2 separate regions of the Homo sapiens genome follow, and region 2 is linked to region 1. Evidence: promoter capture Hi-C in 16 types of primary human blood cells and fetal thymus (Javierre and others, 2016). All regions are on one chromosome and are shown on one strand. Each heading gives the region's core, a stretch centred on a gene start or on the middle of the fragment in contact. The rest is flanking DNA. Distances are from core to core; before and after follow the strand shown.

Evidence for each region. Contacts are between HindIII fragments. The CHiCAGO score rates a contact against its expected background, and 5 or more counts as called.
Region 2: a fragment that was not itself captured here is called in contact with the fragment with the promoter of PRAF2 in region 1 in 1 of 17 cell types (total CD8 T cells); the score reaches 5.3 in total CD8 T cells.

What each region holds. Positions count from the first base shown.
Region 1 is chrX:49,072,483-49,075,251 of GRCh38, forward strand. It overlaps PRAF2 (PRA1 domain family member 2), which reads right to left and starts at 1,520. Exons shown (of 3, transcript NM_007213.3): 1 at 1,327-1,520; 2 at 1-168. The coding sequence starts at 1,505. WDR45 (WD repeat domain 45) reads right to left here. Exons shown (of 11, transcript NM_001029896.2): 10 at 2,654-2,769; 11 at 1,960-2,430. The coding sequence ends at 2,321. RefSeq lists a silencer at 1,703-1,802. The HindIII fragment of the contact is 3,027 bases long and covers 1-2,016 here.
Region 2 is chrX:48,924,621-48,930,294 of GRCh38, forward strand. It overlaps OTUD5 (OTU deubiquitinase 5), which reads right to left. Exons shown (of 9, transcript NM_001136157.2): 6 at 1,227-1,430. Among named protein-coding and RNA genes, the nearest start is that of PIM2, 8.4 kb to the left of the region's middle. RefSeq lists an enhancer at 2,837-3,475. The HindIII fragment of the contact is 737 bases long and covers 2,356-3,092 here.

The DNA of each region.
Region 1 (2,769 bases), core at 270-2,769:
ACCCAGAGCACCAGGAGGCCGACGGCAAGCACTGCGGCCAGGCAGGCTGCAGGGTGGCTGCGGCGGCAGCGGCGCACAGCTGCGCGGGTCTCAGCTGCCCACACCAGCACGCCGAGGGCCACCGCCACTACCAGCGCGCTCAGGAGCGTATGAAGTGGCCGCACGTACCTGCGGGTACAAGGGAACCAAGCTAGCCGGCCGGGCGGAGAGACGGCCTCCGGACCACCACCCACCCTGGGCCCCAAGAGCCAGGGTCTCCCGTCTCCGGACACTCCAGCCTGGCACATCCTCCCACCAGCCCTATCTCCAGCAGGCCCATCTGCCAGGGCTCCCGACTCACCCTTGTAGACCCCTCCTTTCCTCCTTGTCAATTCCACTGTCCTGTCTTCCTCAGGTCCCCGCTTCAGGCCCTCCCATCCTGCTAGACACTCCCCACACCCCCGGGCTCCCAACACTTCCCTGGACTTTCCTTCCGACTCTGCCCCCGTAGGGCCCCTCATCAGCCTGCCCGCAAGCTCCCCCTTTAACACCAGCCCCTGCAAATCCCTCTTTCAGGCCTTCTGTCTTCACACGTTCCCCTCTCCCCAGGCCTAGGGTCCTTATAGAACCGCCCTCCAGGCTCCCATTTCCCTATAGATTCCTCCCTCCATCATTGCTAGGACCTCTTCCAGGTCGTCAGCCCCACTCTGAACTTTCAGCACTGCTCAAGTCCTTCCTCCAGATTCTCCATCCCTCTCTGGTCTCAGGCTTTCCAACCATGGATCCTCCTCCTGGGCCCAAGTTCCCCAACAGGTACCTGCCCCTGGCGCCTTCCAATCATAGCCAGGCTCCCCTCCAAGACCGGATCCCCAATAAATACATCTTCCAAACCCTCCAACTTTACCGTCTATTTCCCGGTCTCTGCCCTAAGTACTCCAGGGTCGGCCTCAATCTGGCCCCATCATTCACATCACACCCCCCCTACGCCCCTCAAGTACTCTCATGTCCCCCTTTCGGGCCCTCCTTTTTTTCCGGTTCACCTTCCAGCCCACTTTCCCCTTCAGTCCCACACTTGTCTCCATCCTCCCCATATCTTCCTTGCAGACCCCCATCCCCCGCAGGCCCTCCTCATCAGCCAGGCTCCATCTCCCTGAGGCCCTCCTTATAACTAGGCTCCACCTCCTTCAAGGCCCCCCTTCCAAGCCCCTCAGGCCGTCCATCTCTACTGACTTCGCCCTTCCCGGCCTTGCACCCCCCTCAGGTTCCCCGTCCTGGTCCTCAAAGACCTGTGGGTCTACCCCCACGCTCTGCAGACGTCCCTGGCCAACCGGCGCCTCCCTCCCTCACCCGGCGAGAGCGAGGCCGATGCCGAAGCAGAGAAGGTAGTTGGTTTGGTAGTAGAGGAGGTTGTTGATGACGCGGTGGCACCATCGCTGCGGGTCGCATGGATCCGGAGCCGCCAGACGCGCCGACCCCAGAACAAAGTCGTCCAGGGCGCGTAGCGGTGGCAGCCGCACCTCCGACATCCTGCCGGTTAATGTGGCTGGACCAGCCAGGAGGGGGCCGGACTACAACAACCGTTACGCCCCTCGCCACCGCGGGGCACACCGGGAAATGGAGTCTGGGCTGGGCAGCTTTTTCCTAACCTCCTAGGTGGATTGCGCAGGGGCGGCGATGCACGTGACCGGAAAAGCAACTAACACGCCGCTCAGGAAAGCAGCAAAGGCTGCCGGGAAATCAAGCCTTTGCCACGAAGCGAGATGCTCCCAACCCTTAAAACTGCCATCCACCCCCGCGCGGGGCGCCGCAGGGGCTGCTCCGGGCGGTGCCAGCGGCTCAAGCACAAAGTAGCCAGACAGATAAGAAAGGAGGGACTGTCACAAGGATCCGAGTTGGATTCCACCTCCTTCCTGTCAGCGCCCAAGAGGGTCACATTTCTCCAGGAAACTCCATGCCCCGCCCCTGAGGTCAAGCCGTAAATGCCATTAAGGGCCTTTTATTCGTATTCATCACATCGGAGATCATCTCTTCCTAGGAAGCTTTTAAAAAATCCCCAGGTTGGATTAGGGCACTCCCTCTGGGTCCCTGGCAATTTCCTCCAGGTTAGGGATCCCAAGGGGTCGCTGCCTTCCTGGGTCTCTGGCCTGGCCCTTGGGGCACACAGTCATCAAGAAGTGCTGGGGGGAAGTGAGCTCTTTATTTAGACATAGCTCTGCTGAGTGGAAAGTGGGCACCAGCCCCATTAATGCTTGCTGGCTGGTGGCTTCCAAGCACGCCCCACTGCCAAGGCTCAGCTCTGCAGTTCTGCCACTGCAGGTCCCTAGCACAGCCCCCAGGGTCCTTAAAAGTCATCATCATCACAGATGTCAAGGTACACGTCGAAAGCCTCTCTGTTGCAGTTTCCATCAGGAGTGAAGACATATTTGTGGAAGGTCCCATCTACGCAGATGGCTGGGGGAGGGGGGGTGGTAAAAGGTCAGAGGCTGCCACAGCCACAGGCTCCAGTCCTCTCAGGCATCTCAGGACCTAGGGTCTGCCTCCAGGCCTTTGCCCAGTGCTGTCCCCCTTACTGATGATGAAGCTGAGCCTCACATGGCCCTAAAATCCTTTCAGGTCCAACCTGCAGGCCTTTGCCCCATGCAGTACCCCCAACCAAGGGGCTGTTCCCACTCACCAATGACAGAGTTGACGTTCTTGGAAGTATTGCGACCGAAGGCGCAGATGCAAGCTGACTCAGCAGGCACAGTGAAGCTCGCCAGGCTCCACTGAGAGTCCACGTACTGCCCAATC
Region 2 (5,674 bases), core at 1,474-3,973, 150 kb before region 1:
CTCCCTCTGGGCTGTGCCTGAGTTGTACCAGGTGTGTGGGCCTGCTGTCCTCCCCTCCATGTGCGCTCAGCTAACTCTCACCTTCTGCAAGGCTCAAATCTCACCTGCTCTGAGGCCTACCCTGACTGCGCTATTTCATACCGTGAACGCACATTCCTGCTCAGCCCCTTTATCCTGGCTCTACACTTTCCATCCATAGCACTTCCCAACTAATTTATTCATTATATTTATTATTTTATTTCACTCTGCAAAACTGTGAACATCACAAGGACGGGGATCTTGGTCTGCTGGGCTCACCTATGTATCCCCATATACTGAAAACAGGGCCTGCCACAGACTGGTAGTAGGTATTTGTGGAATAAAACTCAGCTCCTTCAGCCGGGTGCGGTGGCTCACGCCTGTAATCCCAGCACTTTGGGAGGCCGAGGTGGTCGGATCACGAGGTCAGGAGATGGAGACCATCCTGGCTAACACGGTGAAACCCCGTCTCTACTAAAAATACAAAAAATTAGCCAGGCGTGGTGGTGGGCGCCTGTAGTCCTAGTTACTCCGCAGGCTGAGGCAGGAGAATGGCATCAACCTGGGAGGCGGAGCTTGCAGTGAGCCGAGACTGCGCCACTGCACTCCAGCCTGGGCGACAGAGCAAGACTCTGTCTCCAAAAAAAAAAAAAAAAAAAAACTCAGCTCCTGCCAGCCAACATCTACAATCACTCCAAACTCCTTGCGATTTTACAATTCCTCAGATGCTTGTCTGCCCCGCCCCTCCCCGCTCCCCTAACAATTCAACCTTCCTCTGTGAAGACTAACCGGAGCCCCCACCTCCACTGATCTCCCAGTCAGGGTCAAGGACCCCACCATTGAGTTGTCTCTGCCAACAGACGAGATCGTTGAGGGCAGAGTAGTCCAGATCTGATGTTACATTCTCAGTAGAGACCTGGCACACAAGGGCAGTCAACAAAAGCTTGTGTCTCTGAAGCTATCCATTATTCTCGTGTCACCAGCAGCATGGCTGCCCTCCTCTCACTCCTTAAGTGCCTGTTCTGCACAAGTATTTAAAGTTCCAAGGTACAATGCCAAAACTAAGACCAAGATGAGTTACAGATGGTGCTGGATGCTTCCTTCCCTCCCAGATGTCAAAACTGCTTAATTTTTTTCTGCTCGCTTGAGGGCAAAGCATGAGAAGTAATGAGTTTTTGGCCAAGCCTGTGACAGAGTCCATGACCCACCTGGCTGGGGCCTCGGACCTGGCGAGCCTGTTTCTCCTGATCCCGCAACCACTGCAGGTAGGATTCCCGAGCCACCTGCTCCTCGATGGCTTCATTTGTGGCCTCCCAGTCTGTGGCCCGTTTCTTGTCTTCTAGCATCTGCTGTTCAATCCATGACTCCTCCGATGTTTTTATGGCATTCTTCATCAGAGACTGCTCTGCAAACTGCAAGGAGGGAGAGGAACAGGGATGTGCAATAACACACTGAACCTGCCCAAGAGCCAGAACAGGCTCAGCGAGGTAGGCCCACAGGCCCCAGAAAAAAAAGGAGACAGGAAAGCAGGTACTCCCAAAGAGCAACACTCCACAGACTACCTCTTGATTGGGGACCAAGGGAAAGCAGGCTTGGGATGTGGGACCTGTCATTCCAAACTCCTATGCTTGTAAGACCTGACTCTAACCCCCAAACCACCTCAACTGAGGCACTGAGACTGGAGCAGTCAGGTGCCTTCCAACCTGGGACTTATTTTTTTTTTTTTTTCTGAGACGAAGTATCGCTCTGTCGCCCAGGCTGGAGTGCAGTGGGGTAATCTCGGCTCACTGCAACCTCCGCCTCCCAGGTTCAAGGGATTCTCCAGCCTCAGCCTCCCAAGTAGCTGGGATTACAGGTGAGTGCCACCACCCCCGGCTAACTTTTTTGTATTTTTAGTAGAAATGGGGTTTCACCATGTTGGCCAGGCTGGCCTTGAACTCCTGACCTCAGGTGATCCACCCGACTCGGCCTCCCAAAGTGCTGGGATTATAGGTGTGAGCCACTGCACCTGGCCCTGGGCCTTAATTTAAAGAAGCCCCATCCAGTGATGACTGTTTCATAATGTTGAGGACTTTCACACACATGAGCAGATGAGACACATACAAAAATTAGCTATGTGTGCACCGGGTGGAGGGAGTATTCAAGCATGTGAGGGGTTGGGGGAAGTAGTGGGTGTGTGAGGGAATAAGGGGGCAGTATCAACATGGTGTGGGGTGCTATGAGTTACAGGACACTACATCAGAGTACTGTTTTTCAGGCTGAGATCCAACAGCATTTTTAAAAAATAGAAAATATCAGAATATATCCCAGGGAATAAGTGCAAATGTTGTTTCATGAAGCTTTAGTTAACATTATTTTAATGCACATATACACATCACACACAAATGCATATATGCTAAGTAATCATGTAAAATGTATTCTTTTCTTTTTCCTGCAGACCTTGCATTCAGATAAAATGTAATTTTTTACTGTGAATAGTTAAAAACAATTCGTAAAACTATGTTAGAACAAGCCAATTAAAAAAATAGTCAAAAAATCTAACCACTCTGGCAGTGTTAAACACACTCCAAGTGTTTTTTCTACTCTCACTCAACAACAATCAACACAGGAGACTTCTGTGACCAAGTGTGCGGGCTGGGGGGAGGGTGTTTTCCCACACAGCAAGCAGCGGACACCTGGTGTCCATCCTCCAATGCAATTCAATACCCAGAGACAGCCTGGGATCCCACAGGTTGAGGGCTCAGTCCCACAAGACTCCCCCCAACCCCCTTCGAACACCAGTCGAAAGTCTGGGCCTCCAGAATTTCTGACTGACCAGCTATAAATTGGGATTCCCACAATACTTTTTTGGGGGTTCAACTAACTTGCTAGAGCAGCTCACAAAACCCAGGAAACACGTCTGCCAGTTTATTATAGAGAAAATTACAAAGGATACAGATGAGATGCACAGAGTGAGATATGGGGGAAGGGACGTGGAGCTTCCATGCCCTCCCTGGGGTGCCACCCTCTAGAAACTTCCATGTATTCAGCTACCCAAAAGCTCCCAGAACCCAATCCTTTTGGGATTCTTTGGAAGCTTCATTATGCAGGCATTATTGATTATGCCATTGGACACTAGTGATCAACCTAATCTTCAGCCTCTCTCCCCTCCCCAAAGGCTGGGGGATGGGCTTAAAGTTGCAAACCTCTAATCCTGCCTTGGTCTTTCAGGTCACCAGCCCCCATCCTGAAGCTACCTAGAGGCTGCCAGCCATCAGTCACCTCATTAGCATACAAAAAGGCAACACTTTGCAGATTCTAAGGATTTTAGGAATTGTATGTCAGGAAGTCACAAACACAATTCACCAAAGAAGCTATACAGATGGCAAATAAGCATATGAAAAGATGCTCAACAGCATTTGCCAATAGGCAACTGCAAGTTAAAATAATGAGATACCACTACACACCTAAGAGAATGGCTAAAATCCAACACAATGACAGTATCAATTGCTGGTAATGCTGACAACAGGAACTTCCAAATCATTATGGTGGGCATGCAAATAATACAGCCACTTGGGAAGACAGTTTCTCAGTTCCTCATAAATCAAAACATAATCTTACAACGCAATCCAGCAATCTTGCTCCCAGGTATGTATACAACTGATCTAAAAAATTACGTCCACAAAAAAACCTGCATGCACATTACAGAAGCTTTATTCATAATCATCAAAAACTGGAAGCAACCAAGAATGTCTTTTAATAGGTGAATAATTAAACTGGTACCTCCATAAAAGGAACATTAAGTGATAAGAAAGAAACCAGCTAACAAGCCATGAAAGAACATGGAGAAACCTTAATGCATACTGCTAAGTGAAAAGAAGCAGTCTGTCACATTGACCATTTTAATTTCAGGGGGGAAAAAAGCAAATTGGCTGCAGGTGGCTCACCCCTGCAATACCAGCACTTTGAGAGGCCAAGGCGGGAGGATCACTTGTCCCCAGGAATTTGAGATTGGCCTGAGCAACACAGTGAGATCCTGTCTCTACAAAATAAAAATATTTTTAAAGTTAGCCAGGCATGGTGGTGTGTGCCTGTGGTCCCAGCTACTTGGGAGGCTGAGGTGGGAGGATTGCTTAAACCCAGGAGGTAAAGGCTGCAGTGATATTGTGCCACTGCACTCCAGCCTGGGCAACAGTGATACACTGTCTCAAAAAAAAAAAAAAAAAACAGTATGAAAAGGCTACATACTGTATGATTACAATTATATGACATTCTGAAAAAGGCAACCCACAAAGACAATAGTGTTTGCAGGAAGAGGGAGGAAGGGAGGGGTAAGCATATGGAGTATGAGGAATTTTAAGGGTGGTCAAACTATTCTGAATAATACTGTAATAGTAGATACATAACATTACACATTTGTCAAAACCCATAGAATGTACAACACAAAGAGTGGACCTTAATATATGCTATTTAAAAAAAAATTAGGAAGGCTGGGCACGGTGGCTCATGCCTGTAATTCCAGCACTTTGGGAGGCCAAGGTGGGTGGATCTCCTGAGGTCAGGAGTTCGAGACCAGCCTGGCCAATATGGTGAAACCTGTCTCTACTAAAAATCAAAAAAATTAGCTGGGCGTGGTGGCGCGTGCCTGTAATCCCAGCTACTCGGGAGGCAGAGGCAAGAGAATCACTTGAACCACGGAGGCTGAGGTTGCAGTGAGCCGAGATCGCACCACTGTACTCCAGCCTGGGTGACAGAGCAAGACTCTGTCTCAAAAAATAAATAAATAAATAAAATAAAATAAAATAAAAATTAGGAGATCTATGGCCAGCGCGGTGGCTCATGCCTGTAATCCCAGCACTTTGGGAGGCCGAGGCAGGCAGATCACCTGAAGTCAGGAGTTCGAGACCAGCCTGGGCAACATGATGAAACCCCGTCTCTACTAAAAATACAAAAATTAGCCAGGTGTGGTAGTGCATGCCTGTAATTCCAGCTACTCGGGAGGCTGAGGCACGAGAATTGCTTGAACCCAGGAGGTAGAGGCTGCGGTGAGTTGAGATCATCGCACCACTGCACTCCAGCCTGGGCGACAGTGAGACTCTGTCTCAAAAATAAATAAATAAAAAATTAGGAGATCTGAGATCCCAGCATAGAATGCAAAAATGTGACAAAATAATACAAATGTATTACAAACATGAAACAACCTTGGCCGGGCGCGGTGGCTCACGCCTGTAATCCCAGCACTTTGGGAGGCCGAGGCGGGCGGATCACGAGGTCAGGAGATTGAGACCATCCTGGCTAAGACGGTGAAACCCCGTCTCTTACTAAAAATACAAAAAATTAGCCAGGTGTGGTGGCAGGCACCTGTAGTACCAGCTTCTCGGGAGGCTGAGGCAGGAGAATGGTGTGAACCTGGGAGGTGGAGCTTGCTGTGAGCCGAGATCACGCCACTGCACTCCAGCCTGGGCGACAGAGCGAGACTCTGTCTCAAAAAATAATAATAATAAAATAAAATAAAAATAAACACCCTCATTTGAAGGGGGTGGGGGTACAAGTAGGTCACTTTCAAAATGAATGGAGTCTGTAACACCAAAGGCAAAAAAGAACTATATGTAGCATTGAGCTATAGTGATAAAGTTGTTTCCCACGGGGGTACGGGTGAACAAGTGTGATTCTGCTA